Regions from separate parts of the Homo sapiens genome. Here all the other regions are linked to region 1. The links are contacts of gene promoters, found by promoter capture Hi-C in blood cells and fetal thymus (Javierre and others, 2016). All regions are on one chromosome and are shown on one strand. The core of a region is centred on a gene start or on the middle of the fragment in contact, and the rest is flanking DNA. Distances in the headings are between cores, read along the strand shown.

What was found. The method cuts DNA at HindIII sites, captures the fragments that hold promoters and counts their contacts. A CHiCAGO score of 5 or more calls a contact.
Region 2: a fragment that was not itself captured here is called in contact with the fragment with the promoter of TBX4 in region 1 in 3 of 17 cell types (naive B cells, monocytes and M0 macrophages); the score reaches 6.2 in naive B cells.
Region 3: a fragment that was not itself captured here is called in contact with the fragment with the promoter of TBX4 in region 1 in 2 of 17 cell types (total B cells and naive CD4 T cells); the score reaches 6.0 in total B cells.
Region 4: a contact is called between a fragment that was not itself captured here and the fragment with the promoter of TBX4 in region 1, in 4 of 17 cell types (naive CD8 T cells, total CD4 T cells, naive CD4 T cells and 1 more). The highest score is 6.0, in naive CD8 T cells.
Region 5: a contact is called between a fragment that was not itself captured here and the fragment with the promoter of TBX4 in region 1, in 4 of 17 cell types (naive B cells, total B cells, naive CD4 T cells and 1 more). The highest score is 8.5, in naive B cells.

The regions. Positions count from the first base shown.
Region 1 is chr17:61,451,028-61,453,727 of GRCh38, forward strand. It overlaps TBX4 (T-box transcription factor 4), which reads left to right and starts at 1,395. Exons shown (of 9, transcript NM_001321120.2): 1 at 1,395-1,550. LOC124904042 (a long non-coding RNA gene) reads right to left here. Exons shown (of 2, transcript XR_007065872.1): 2 at 2,215-2,700. RefSeq lists an enhancer at 1,365-2,206. The HindIII fragment of the contact is 10,401 bases long and covers 1-2,700 here.
Region 2 is chr17:61,843,026-61,845,725 of GRCh38, forward strand. All of the region lies in intron 6 of BRIP1 (BRCA1 interacting DNA helicase 1), which reads right to left. Among named protein-coding and RNA genes, the nearest start is that of BRIP1, 19 kb to the right of the region's middle. The HindIII fragment of the contact is 1,501 bases long and covers 662-2,162 here.
Region 3 is chr17:61,026,166-61,028,865 of GRCh38, forward strand. All of the region lies in intron 16 of BCAS3 (BCAS3 microtubule associated cell migration factor), which reads left to right. Among named protein-coding and RNA genes, the nearest start is that of BCAS3-AS1, 110 kb to the right of the region's middle. The HindIII fragment of the contact is 699 bases long and covers 1,053-1,751 here.
Region 4 is chr17:60,967,866-60,970,565 of GRCh38, forward strand. The region is part of intron 14 of BCAS3 (BCAS3 microtubule associated cell migration factor); the gene reads left to right. Among named protein-coding and RNA genes, the nearest start is that of BCAS3-AS1, 170 kb to the right of the region's middle. The HindIII fragment of the contact is 4,247 bases long and covers 1-2,700 here.
Region 5 is chr17:61,007,671-61,010,370 of GRCh38, forward strand. All of the region lies in intron 15 of BCAS3 (BCAS3 microtubule associated cell migration factor), which reads left to right. Among named protein-coding and RNA genes, the nearest start is that of BCAS3-AS1, 130 kb to the right of the region's middle. The HindIII fragment of the contact is 591 bases long and covers 985-1,575 here.

The DNA of each region.
Region 1 (2,700 bases), core at 145-2,644:
ACAGACCCATCCAGGAAAAGAATTTCCCTGTCCTCTCCCCTTCAAGCTGATTTTGAGGTCAGAATCTGGAAAGGGACAGAGGCTGGTTGAGGACACTGGTGGAGGGAGGGATGCAGCCCATGCTAAGCACTAAGGGACCACTCTGGGGATCCTTATTGATGAGGATTCTGCTGTCTTTGCAGATGGGTGGGCAGGCCTATTTCTGCCCCAGGATTCTGGGCATGTGACAGGCGGGGAGGCTGGGGCACGGGCTGGGGTCCGCATGGGTCCGTCTGCTAGTGGAAAGGCAGCGTCCTGTGGGAGGTACAGACAGAGAGAAACAGAGGTAAGTGGAGACAGAGAGCTCAGAGGCTGGGCAGGGAGGTCTAGGTGCTGAGCGGGACTCCGTTTCTGAGGCGGAAAGAACCGGGTGGCTGGGAGCAGGACGCTCCCCAGTCTCCACTTCCTAGACTAGGGCAGGCATTGGGCTTCCTCTTCAGCTCTCCAGGATCTCAAGGAGCTGCCGCGGAATCCTGGCCCTGGGCCGCAGTTTCCCCAGGAGGCTCTGCCAAGCCTGGCACCTTGCAGCCCGGCCTGGGCTCTGTCAAGGCCCGAGCCGGACTCGGCTCCACTCAGAGGCCGGCCCAGCACTTCCCTGCCGCCGCCGCCCCGCACCCGGCCACCGGGCTTCCTCCCAGTCCTCACCCCTGACCTCCGCGGCCGACTTCGAGGCGCGCCAGGCCGGGTCCAGCGCCCGCGGCCCCCTGGGCCGGGACAAGGAGGGCGGGTGAGCAGAAGGGCCGTGCCCAGGGCCTGGAAGTGCAAGGCCGCGTGGTGGGCATGGTAGGGAAGCGGAGCGTGGGCCTGTGAGGCGCGTGTGCGCCTGCGACCTCGGGACCGGGGCTCCCAAATGAACAGCGCGCACAGCTGGGAGCAGGGCTTGGGGAGCGGGGCTCTGCGGCCGGGGATCCGTAGAAGCCGCTGCCTGGAAGCGGGCGCCGGCAGGGGGTGGCCAGACCCGGTCGTGGAGCGTCCTAGTCTTCGGGCACGGCGGGGCCAGGCGAGCCCTCCTGGTTGTCGAGCCTCGGCTGAGAGCCGGGCTGCTCGCCCTTGCTTCCCGCCTCTCTAATCTAAACCATGCGGGGCTCCCAGCCCCTACCCGGCTCGCGGGGCCCGAGGGCCAAGAGGAGGGCACTGGGCCGCGCGGTGGAGGAGCCGGCGGCTCGCGTGGGGCTCGGGATCTTGGGGACCGCGACGCCGGGGAACCCTGGAGCCCCCCTCCCCGGGGGACAGCGGGCGCAGACTGATTGACAGCGGCGACGTCAGCGCGGAGGGGGGGCGGCCCCAGAGGGAGGGAGGGAGGAGGAGGGAATTGAGGCCCCAAAGTGCAGCCTTGGAGATCAAGGGCCCGCTCCAGAGCCGGGATGTGTCCAGCCCCGAGGGCACGGCAGGCAGCTGGACCCTGACCCAGCGGCGCGGAGTCGGAGCCCCGGCCGTCCCGCGCTCCTCGGACCCGAACCTGCAGGGGACCTCGGGCCGCTGGCGCCTCCGCATGCGGCACCGCAATTAGGGTGAGTGTGGGTTCCAGCCGAGTGGGGACGAGCTGGGCGTGCGGGGCTGGGGCCACAGGGGCTCAGGGTTAGGCTGCGGGGACGGACAGGAGGATGAGCTGGAAAGGGGTGAGTCACGCGACCCGGGGAAGAACTTCAGGGGCGGTCAAAGTTGCAGGAAGGCGGCGCGAAGTGCCTTGGGTCGGGCCGCCGCCTCGGCCCGACACCCAGTAGTTGGGGCACGAGCCCTCCTCTCTGAGTAACGCGATGAATTGGGTCTAGAGATCCAAGAGCATAGAAATATCGACAGCGCCAGCACCCTAAGAACAAGGCCGTGACAGGCGGAGCGGTGGCCTGGAAATTGGTGTTTGCAGAATATGCAAGGCCAAGGAAGAGGGCCCCGGTACTGGAGCGAAAATCCGTGTAGATATGTGAGTGATCAGAACACTAGACTCAGAGCCTTTGATGCAATAGACTAGTCAAAATTAAAGCAAGGAACATTATATATAAATAATGATCGATGATTAAAGATTATTGGAATGTGAACAATTACCAAAGAAAGGGCTAATCGGCATAACTGATATAACACGTGAACTTCCAAATAATACAATCATAGTCACTTTCAGAATCAAGTGAAAATAGTAATCACAATTTTTAAAAGGATTAAAGACAAAGTAATTCTAAATAGAGGAACAATGTAAGGACTGTTTATTAAAACCAATTGCACTAATATAACATATAGTAATAGTGTAACAAATTACCAAACTGTAGGAAACTAGCAAACGAACTGTAGGAGAAAGATGAACAATGAAAATACTATTAAGGGAAATACTATTAGTGGTAGTGATATAATAATATAATGTATTATTGATACTACAGTGAACTATTAAAAGAAATATTAACTAAAATCTTAGGAGCAATAGTAATATAAATAAAGACATATTAACAAGAATTGCTGGAGTAATATGACAATTTATGACCAATGTATTAATAGTCACAAGAACATTATAAATAATGGTTGAGTAATAAGAAGTATTGTACCAATGTGATGAAAAATAATCAGAGTATTAAGAGCTACAACAATATTACAAAGTATGACAAAATAACAAGAAGTAATGATGTGATGAGTAACTAGCGAGTTCAGATCTGTAACATTACAAATAATGACAAA
Region 2 (2,700 bases), core at 162-2,661, 390 kb after region 1:
TATTAGCCCTAAAAAAGATCCTGCTATTTGTGACAACATGGATGAACCTGGAGGGAGGACATTATGCAAAGTGAAATATGTCAGATGTAGAAGGAAAAATACTACATGATCTCACTTATACGTGGAATCTAAAAAAGTCAAATACATAGAAACAGAAATCAGAACAATGGTTACTGGGGCAGGGAGGTGGGGGATTTGAGGAGATGTTGATCAAAGAGTAAAAAGTTGAATCTACATAGGATGAATCAAGTCTAGAGATCTAATGAACAGCATCATGACAACAGTTAATAATACTATATTCTAGGCTGGATATTTCGATATTGGCTTTAAAATTTTCAGGTGTTCTCAACACACACACACACACAAAAGGTAACTATGTAAGGAGATGAATATATTAATTAGCTTGTGATATGATTTGGAAGTGTGTCCCCTCCAACTCTCATGCTGAAATGTGATCCCCCAAGTTGGAGGTGGGGCCTAGTGTAAAGTGCTTGGGTCATCAATGGCTGGTGCCCTCCTCACAGTAATGAGTTGAGTTCTTGCTCTGAGGTCACACGAGATCTGGTTATTTAAAACAGTGTGGAACCTCCTCTGCTCTCTCCTCTGTCCTCTCTTTCCATGTGACAAGTTTGCTCTCTCTTTGTCTTCTGGCATGCTTGTAAGCTTCTTGAGGCCCTCACCAGAAGCAGATGCTGACACCATGCTTCCTGCACAGCCTACAGAACTGTGAGTGAAAATAAACCTCTTTTCTTTATAAATTGCCCAGCCTCTGGTATTGCTTTATAACAATTCAAACAGACTATCACAGCTTGGCTGTAGTAATAATTTCACTATGTATATATATATTAAAACATCATGTTTTACACCTAAAATATATATAATTTTTATTTTATGTATTTATTTTTTATTTTTTTTTAGAGACAGGGTCTCGCTCTGTCACCCAGACTGGAGTACAGTGGTTCAATCATAGTTCAATACAGCCTCAATCTTCTGGCTCAAGGGATCCCCCTCCCTCAGCCTCCTGAGTAGCTAGGACTACAAGTACACACCACCACACACAGCTATTTTTTTTCTTCTATTCTTTATAAAGACAGGGTCTCGTTATGTTGCCCAGGTTGGTCTTGAACTCCTGACCTCAAGCAATCCTCTCACCTTGGCCTCCCAAAGTGCTGAGATTATAGGCATGAGCCATGATGCCTGGCCCAATCTTTATTTAAAAATTAAGATCAGGCAGTATGTGTCCAAAGTCCATTCTCTTAACCAATAAAAACAAAACAAGCCAGGTGCAGTGATTCATGCCTATAATCCCAAAACTCTGGGAGGCCCAGGCAAGAGGATCACTGGAGGCCATGAGTTTGAGACCAACCTGGGCAACACAGTGAGACCTCATCTCTACAAAAAATAAAAATAAAAAATTAGCTGGGCATGGTGTTGCACAGCTGTAGTCCTTGCTATTCAGGAGGCTGGGGTTGGAGGATCACTTGAGCCTGGGATTTTGAGGTTACAGTGGGCTATGATCACACCACTGCGTTACAACATGGGCAACACATTGAGACCCTGTGTCTACAAATAAAGCAAACAAAAACAATTCCCAAGAAAAAAAAATCTTAATCACAGGTGACTCTATACTTGATTTGTTTATCTGTGAGCTTCTACATATTTCTTTCCTTATCTTGGTGTTAGAACCCTATTTAGGTGGCTCCAGGACTGCAAAGAGGCATTTTAGAGAGAATATAAAATAAAGTGATTAGGGCATTTGCCAGAACATGAGAATGCCTAGGCAGGATTTAGCTCTACTATTTACTAGCTTTGTGATCTTAGGCCAGTTTCTTCCTTCTCAGAGTTTCCTCATCTGTACGATGGGAATACCAATATACCTGCTTCATAATCATTGTAAGAACTCAGTAACATTCAACAAATAAATATTTATTAGACAACTAATATGCACCATATGCTATTCTAGGCATGAGGGACACACATGAAAAAGACTGACATTACATCGTAATAGGACAGACAAATAATAAACAAGTAATCAAGTAATTTCAGATAATAGTAAGCCCATGAAGGAAAGGAAAGAAAATGAATGAGAAAACACTGTGGCAGAGCTCAACATATAGCTTACATTATAATGATGTTGATGATTATTGCAATTTAACAGAAGAAGCTTCTACATAATTTCTCCAACTATTAATATAAAGCTTCAGTGAAGATCACCAACAAAACACAAATTAAATGTACAGTAACTGAAAACAAATCTGTGGTTGCCTGGGAATGGGGGGACAGGGCAGAAAAAAGGTCCATCAGTCTATCTTGCACTTAGGATGGACCTTTTCTAGGCATCATTTTGCAATATCATGCACTGGTCATTTAAATAATATTTAGTTCGCTGAGTTTAAGTTCATTGAGTTTTACAGATCTTACAAATGTTGACACATTTCATTATATAAATATAAAAAGTCATATTCTGTAATATCACCAATTTCATCAGAAAAGTCTGTAGTTATCACAAAGCTGCCAAGCTCAGAGTATATACAAATTTTTTAAAATTCTGATTTTCACTTGAAAGCTCAAATTTTATCTGGCTCATTTTATCATAAAGAATTACCATGGTTAGTATATCATTCACTCTTTTTCAAGCAAAAATGATGTTCCATGACAAAAAGTGGCTAGTCAGCTCACAATCCAAACTATCCTACAGGC
Region 3 (2,700 bases), core at 152-2,651, 420 kb before region 1:
ATTTAAAACAAGTGATTGTAGCTTTAGTTTGCTGCGTACTAACCTAATCTAGTGCAGACCAGGTAAAGGAAGCTAACCTCTTAGACCACTATTAAGAGATATCCTAATTTCCTGGATTATGGCCAAAAATAGAGAAAAATTATACTAGTTGTACTTAGTGTTTTTTCCTTTGACCAACAATATACAATTCAACTTACGACAAATAAGCAGCTTGAAAAATATGTGCCTCTTTCTGTGGTTCTGAGACTGGAACCAGTGAAAAGCAGACAATTCATATCAAATTTTTTATCCAGTCATCGTTAGCTAATTTTAACCATTTTGTGTCACATAGCTACACATTTGTTGCTATTGATCTCACTCTTCTCCATCTGGTTATTCCATTTAACTTATACCTTGTTTTAAAGGGCTTCAGCAGTGAATTTTATTTTATTTTAACTTAGAAATACTACAGGGGTGCTCCAGAAAAGGGGGAGAAATAGAAAATTTTGAATCTCTAACTCTGAAAATTAAGGGCCTTGTTACTACACATCATTCTGTTTATTGGTTATATCAGACAGTATGTACAGCAGAATTGTAAATGATTACTAATTTTTTAGTTATTTTTATCCATACTCTATAACAGTATGATATACTTGTATTTGCTAATGTTAAATGAGTTTTTCTCTAATTTTTTGTGCATTTTTCCCCCTTTTCCATGAAGGCCTTATCTCTTTGGAGCGGGGTGTTTTTCCATAAAAGCCCCATGGTGAGTTCCAGTTCAGTCCCGCATGCCTCATTCATTTGCTGTACTCTCAAAAAGTAATTTGTTTTGTAGTTTTGTTTCCAGTTGCATGGCCTGATCACAGATAGATGCACCAAGTTACTGAATAATTTGTAGATGGAACATGAATGTTGATATTTAAGCTTTAGAAAAGTGGTTTTCTTGGTTTCACTTCATTCTTTAAAAAGTAAAAAACAAAAAAAAAAAAACCACAGATGAATTTTTTTTAAATAGAAGAATTCTCTCATAATGCTCGTAAATATTACAAGACAAGGCTAACACCCAAGTTTAAAGCTTTGAGTATTATGGCATTAGAAGTTACCTACATATCATGCATAGCATTTGAGGACATGATTTATTTTGAAATATAAATATATTTAAGGTATACCAAAAGCACCTTATAAAGTTTTTGTTGCATTTTATTTGGTCCTAAAGAGACAAAAGTTCTGTTTTTGAATAGTTTAGGTATTTAAGGAGCTACATAATGACAAAATATATATTTTACATAAAACCTCCTAAATAATTTATTATTTTGAATTATTAGCACATACTCATCATAGCTTAATTATTTGGTAAATTCTTTCATGTCAGTGCACAGAATACAGCTTTGTCAGTCTTAGACAGGAAGGTCATAGAAAAGAATTCGAATATATTTAATACTTTCATGTAAAGATAGGAAGTAGAATGTGTTAAGAATGGTATAAAATGTTTAATGGTTAAGAGTCAGACTGCCTGGGTCTTAGATCCCAATTGACACACTTACTAGCTATATGATTTGGGGGGAGTTTTCTAAAACCTTTCTATTTCTTATTTCCTTATGTATTAAATGTACCTATGTAATGGACTCACTATGAGTATTAAATAAGCTGATACATATCTCAGTATGTGTTAGTATATAACAGTGCCTGGCACATAGTAAATGTGCAGTAAATGTTAGCTGCTACCACTGTTTCTTTTCCTGTTTCAGGGAAAAATACCGTGTTTCAAAAGAAGCTTATTTAAATTAGATTATGTTTTTCACTTTTAAGGATATGTTAACCAGTGCGAAGTTTTGAGAAATGTAAGCTATATTAATTTTATTAATTTAGTCAGAATACTGAAAAGAGTTCTGCACATATGTGTAGTTCTCATAACTGCTAAATGGGGATTGTTCATACTGTTCTATTACACTAGAAAAAAACATTCCAACGTTTTTTCCTCTTGGACAGAAAGAAGCTTAAATAGTTCTTTAAGGTTAATTATTATTTGACACAAACTTATTTCAATGTTTATATGCCATAGGAAGATCTGAAAATTTTGTTATTGCTTAATAATAGGTGACATAAAACAAATCAACATAAAATTTTCCTCCTTGAAAATTATAATTAGACACAGTTTGCAAAACTATTCTAAACAAATTCAGGATATACAAGAATATAAATCTCATGAAAGTTGATCTTTATTCATTTTGTTAACCAGATGTCTTCTAAAAACAAATAAGATACACAGATCTTACTTATGAGCCTTCCAGTGATCAGTGAATTTTAAATGCCACATTCAACATATGACAAAATTTCTTTGTAAACTTAGAATTAAATTCCATTTTAGGATAAATTCTTCTTCTAAGTACAAAGCAAAGAGTTGTAGTATGTTAATAAAGATTGAAGTTTTGCATAGAAGTAAAAGATGGAATAACAACTGTTGTATGTTAAGTAAGTAAAGTTCATTCCTTCAACAGCTTACGTGCTCCTCACATTTAAGCAAAAGCACTTGTCAACCAGAAATGATTTGAGGTTGAAACAAGATTAAAAGAGCCAGATTAAAGAAAGGGATATATTAAATATAGTAGACTTTTAAATCATTGCCTGTCTTTTAGAAGACTGCTTTGTGGTTTGTTTGATGCCATCGTTAGCTCACAAGAAACTCGTTTTTAGTCACTTATACTAGACTAAAAGGTTCTC
Region 4 (2,700 bases), core at 164-2,663, 480 kb before region 1:
TTCTCAGTTCCAAGATTTCTATATTTTTTCCCAATCTCTTTGTTAAATTTCTCTGATAAATTTCTGAATTGCTTTTCTGTGTGTTTGTTGTTGTTGTTGTTGTTGTTGTTGTTTTGGAGATCACTGAGTTTTCTTAAAACTGCTATTTTGAATTCTTGGTCAGAGGGCTCACAGATCACTCTTTCATTAGGGTCTGTCACTGGAGTTTTGCTTTGTCCATTGGAGAGGTCATAATTCCCTACTTGCTGTTGTTTTTTTCGTGTGTATATCTGTATCTTTGCATTGATACTTTATTTCAGTTTTATCTGTCTACCTTGTTTTGATTTTATTGGGTATATTTTGCTTAGTGCATTTTTTTTAATCCTTTTAGAGTCAGGGCTCATTTTGTTGCCCAGGCTGGAGTACAGTGGTGCAGTCATTGCTCACTGTAATCTTGAACTCTTGGGCTGGAGCAATCCTCTAACCTCAGCCTCCTGAGTAGCTAGGACTACAGGCACGTGACACCATACCTGGCTAACTTTAAAAAGAATTTTTTTTGTTGTTGTTGTTAGAGACAGACTCTCATTGTGTTGCCCTGCCTGTCACAAACTCCTGGCCTGAAGTGATCCTCTCACCTGCCTTGGCCTTTCAAGGCACTGGAATTACAAGCATGAGGCAGCGTGTCTGGCCTGTTAGTGAATCTTTACAGCTAAGTTGTTGCCTTTTTTTTTTGGATATAGGTGGTACCTAAAGCCCAGGTTCACCTTGGCTCTGCTAAATGATTGTAGTACTGCCTATCCTGATTTGGGAGCATCCCAAAGTGGTTATCCCCACAGTGTGTCAAGTCTGGCTAGGGGTTTGTGCCCAGGGACCTTTGTAATGTATTGCCTACTACATGGTGCTGCTGAACAGCCACTCTAATTTGGTGTCTCCTTTGGCCAAGTAATGGAACAAAGTTTCCAGGGCTAGGGATGGTAGTCTAGCCTCCCCACTTTGTCTTGGCCTGTCCTCAGGGTTGTTTCTCCCATCAGGCAGCCACGATACTTCCTGCCAGTTAAGGCAAGGATAGTTTTCCTGCCAGAGCACCCAAGATGGTGGGAAAGCTGGTTTACCACCTCAGTCTCACTTTTTCCAGTATAGTCACCATGAGTTGGGGGGGGAGATTTTCTGTGCTCTTGATGCCAGGCAGAATCGGGGGAGGGGCATTACAGATCTGGAAGTCTGAATCTCTTACCATTCACTCTGAGGTTTTCTTTTTCACTTCTCTGTGGCCTCAGGAATTGTCTCATCCTCATATTTGAGTTCTGAGTGTTTCTGGTTAAAATCTCGGTACTATATATTTGTTTTTGGTTTTCTGCAGGGGTAGTGAAGCCAGCTAGCTTCTATACCACCGTTTTGGAACTGGAAGTCTCCATCTTCTAGTAGAAATTATTTTAAAGCATCTATTATTACTATGCTCAGTGATATGAAGGAAAATATGCTTCTTTTAAATAAAAGGGTAGGAAATGTCAGCAGAGAAAGAGAAAATATAGGAAATTACCTAGTGAAAAGTCTACAACTTAAAAATACAATATCAAAAATAAAAATGAAATGGATGTGTTAATAGCAGAATTTGAGTGAGTAAATGAATTTGCAGATAGATCACTAGAAATTTCCAAACCAAATGAGTGAAAAAATAGAAAATAAGTAGAGCCTTAGCAACTTGTGGGACAATATCAGAGCCAACATACATGTAGTTATTGCAGAAGGTGAGGAGAGTAAGGGAGGAAAAAAAATCTAAAAGTGGGAAACTTTCCACTTTTGTTGAAAGACATACATTTACAACTTCAAAAAGATAAGCAAACAACACATAAGATTAAGTACAACAAAAACCATGTCAAAGGACATCATAGTCATTTTTCTGAAAACCAAAGTAAGGAGGAAATCTTGAAAGTAGGCAGACAAAAGTAATGCATTGCACACACAGAAAGTACATTTTAACACACTATTGACTTCTCACTGGAAACCATGGAAGTCAGAAGACAGTGGAATAACATGTCTGAAGGACTCAAAGAATAAAATATTGGCCACCTGAAGTTTTCCATCAAACAACAATATCTCTCAAGGATGAAGGAGCAGTAAAGGCGAGACATCCACACTGTAAATTATGCTAATGGCACATAATACCAGAAGCAAACTTGCAGCTTTAGGAAATAGTGAAGAATATGGTCATTTCTTGTTGAATAGAAAGGATGATTTTTCCCTTTTAAAAATTTGTGTCTAATATATGGGAATGATTGAATTATTTTGTTGGTATTGTATTATATGTACATGTAATACATATGACAACTATAGCACAAAGATGGAGGGTGCTAGGGTGGAGGCAGGTATATGGAGCTGTACTATTGCAAGGTTCAACATTGCTATACATAAAAAATCAATGCTTCAATGAAAATGGCATACTAAAAAATGTTCAGTTAATACAAAAGACAGGAAAGGAAAGGCAGAAGCACAAGAAAAAGAGGGATAAACAGAAAACAGATATTAAATGGTATATCAAAATTCAACCATATAGAAATTAAATATTAATGTACTCCAATATAAAGGAAGAAATTGCCTATAAGGTAGTGTTGAATATAGAGACATTAATATGATAGTAAATGTATATTAAAAGATACATCATCCAAATAAGAAACATAAGAATATTGGAAATTCAACTATATTAGTATCAACTAAAATAGA
Region 5 (2,700 bases), core at 30-2,529, 440 kb before region 1:
TGACACTATCATTAATAATCTCAATCCCCATCCTGTTTAAAAAAAAAAAAGAAAGATTGGATTCTTGTTTTCAAGTCCATTTTGTGGGAGATTTCTCTAATCTTCCTACCTTCTCACCCTTTCTCAAAGTACCTACAGTAATGTCTATGGTGACGTGAACTTTTTACTCAAAGAAAGCAACAAGTGTTTTTGCTTGAAATGCATCAAAAATTGCAGTGTTTTTACTTCACCATCGATTGCCTCCAAAAAAAAGTTATAGGCAAAATGAATCAGTGCCCACACAGGATTGTCCTTCAGTATTTTCTGTCTTTATTTGTCACCCAAACTGTTTGTTGTGTTTATAGTCTTTAAAAATGTGTGTCTGTGTGTCGACACACACACACACACACACACATAAAATTCATTTTCTTTTAGTGTGTGTTCTACTCTCCTTGGCTCCTGTGAACAAGCATTGCTTCCGCCCAGTTTGGTATGTGGGTCAGAAGGCACTGTTTCTCACCAGGGTGCTGCTGTTTCCTTTTCCGACTTGAGTAGATTGCAGATTATACTGGAACATGCCTGAGAAAAGGTCATAAAGGAGGGTGAAAGTCCTGGAACTGCAGCTGGGAAGCTTGACATTCTCATCTAGGAAAGGGGAGAAGAGAGAGATGGAGAGAGAGACACACACTCCCATCCCAACCAAAAATAACCCACCTGCAGGAAATTCCCTTCTACACAGGGTATTTTTTGTTAAATAACTATTGAGAGTTTGGTTGAAAAAACTTTAATGTTAAATTGGATGGCAAGCAAGAACTAAGCAGTGTTTTTAACTTTTCAGAGCCCACATTTCCAGTGACTATTTCAAAACAAGCTACCATTGTATTCTTTGACAGAGTCAAGAAGTCAGAGCTTTTCAACTACAGAATTAACTTAGTTAAACTCCTTGGTATATTTTAGATTTTTATCCCTGTCAATTCCACAGCAAGATATTAAAAACAGTCCAAAAGCTTTGCTCTTCTGTAGAAGACAAAAGTTTACCAAAAAATAAAAAATAAAAAAATAAAAAAAAAGGCCCCGTAGAACTCATCATCTAGTTTTTATTTTTGAAAGATATGATATAGGGAATAGAACATCTACATGATGTCTTAGAATAGGTAAAGTGTTGCAAAGAGGGCAAAAATAAAGGAGATATTTGGGACTGGGGCTGTTTCCGTAGAATTGTCTTCTGAGGAGTGCCAGAGAGTCACATTGACCTCGGGCTTCAGTGTGGCTCAGTAATCCGATTTCAAAATGCAAGAGTTCCAAATAGGAGACCAAAGACACTAGGTGAGGAGCTTATATCCTAGAACAATAGTGGGTGTTGTAGATAAGTGTATGGAGAGGTGATGAGAACAGAATTTAATACAGTCGTAGGAGTCTAGAGTACTGAGTTATAGGAAGGTGTCTATTGTAAACCTTCAGAAAAGTGGAGTGCCTAAAGTGGATAAGGTCTGTGTCTGTGGTAAGAATAAGTGGGATGATATGTGGACCTCCTAATAACACTGCTCTTTCACAGGGCACCATTGCTTAGTGTCCTTTAGCTCTTTTTGCAAATGAAGCTTTGCCGTTTCTATACTTATCTCTAATACTCTAATACTATACTTACCTCATATGTCTAATGACAACAGAAGGACAGTGCTCTTTTTATCCTCCAAATGTTTCACTTGACCCACTTTATTCCATTGTAGGTCTTAGTTTCTCATACCTTCTGTTCCTAAAGAATCTTTCTTTGTCCTCCATTAACAATAACTTTTAGAAACCTGTAACAAAAATTTCTCTCTCTCTCTGGTATGACACTCCTTTAAGGTACTTTCTGATCTACAACTATTGTCATTTGATTCCTTAATGTTATTTTAACTGATTTTATGTCCTTTGGTTCACAATATGGTAAGATATGGAAATTTTTTAAAGGTAGAAAGGATGCAAATACATTCATTTTTTATTTTCCCTCTTCTTGTTTGTATCTCGGAAGAAAGACAACTATACATATGTACACACAGATACACTGATAGTAACTTTAATATTTAACATAATCTGAAATGTTCAACAATTTCAGTTTTGCTAGCTTCAGAGAGTTCTTGCAGTTGGCAGTTTGCCACATTCACATGTTCTCACATCACTGCATTCAGAAGCTAAGAATACCAACCTGGCAGCTTCTGCACAGAGGGTAAAGATAAAACAGAAGGGAGTCTAACTTTGCAGCCACATTACCTGGGAGTTGCTGCTGATGTCTTTTCCACAAATGTCCAAGTTTGTCAAAGCCCAGTAAATCTTAGAAAGTTTATTTTCCTTGTAGCATCTGTGTTTTATAATGGGTCTTTTAATTTGTTTTTACTTTGTCTGCAGGGATTTCTTTTGTCCGGAGTTTTCAGACTCTGTCTTTTTTTTTTTTTTTTTTTTCCTGTGGAAGTGAGTCTGTTAATGATGACTGGTTTGGGAATATGCCTCTCTGCAAAGCTGACCTGACAAGCTATTCCTCCAGCGTGGCAACAAAGCCCATTGTTATTTTCTCTGTTCACTTTTATCCTCAACTTAATCCATTTTTCTTCTGTGTTTTTATAGTATAGAATGTCTGGGAAAACATAATTTAGGACAAAGCATAAGTAAGATGGTATTTTGAAGTTAGCAAAACTTTTAGTAAACAGATCACACCATGTCATTCTCATATATGCAGACAGTGGA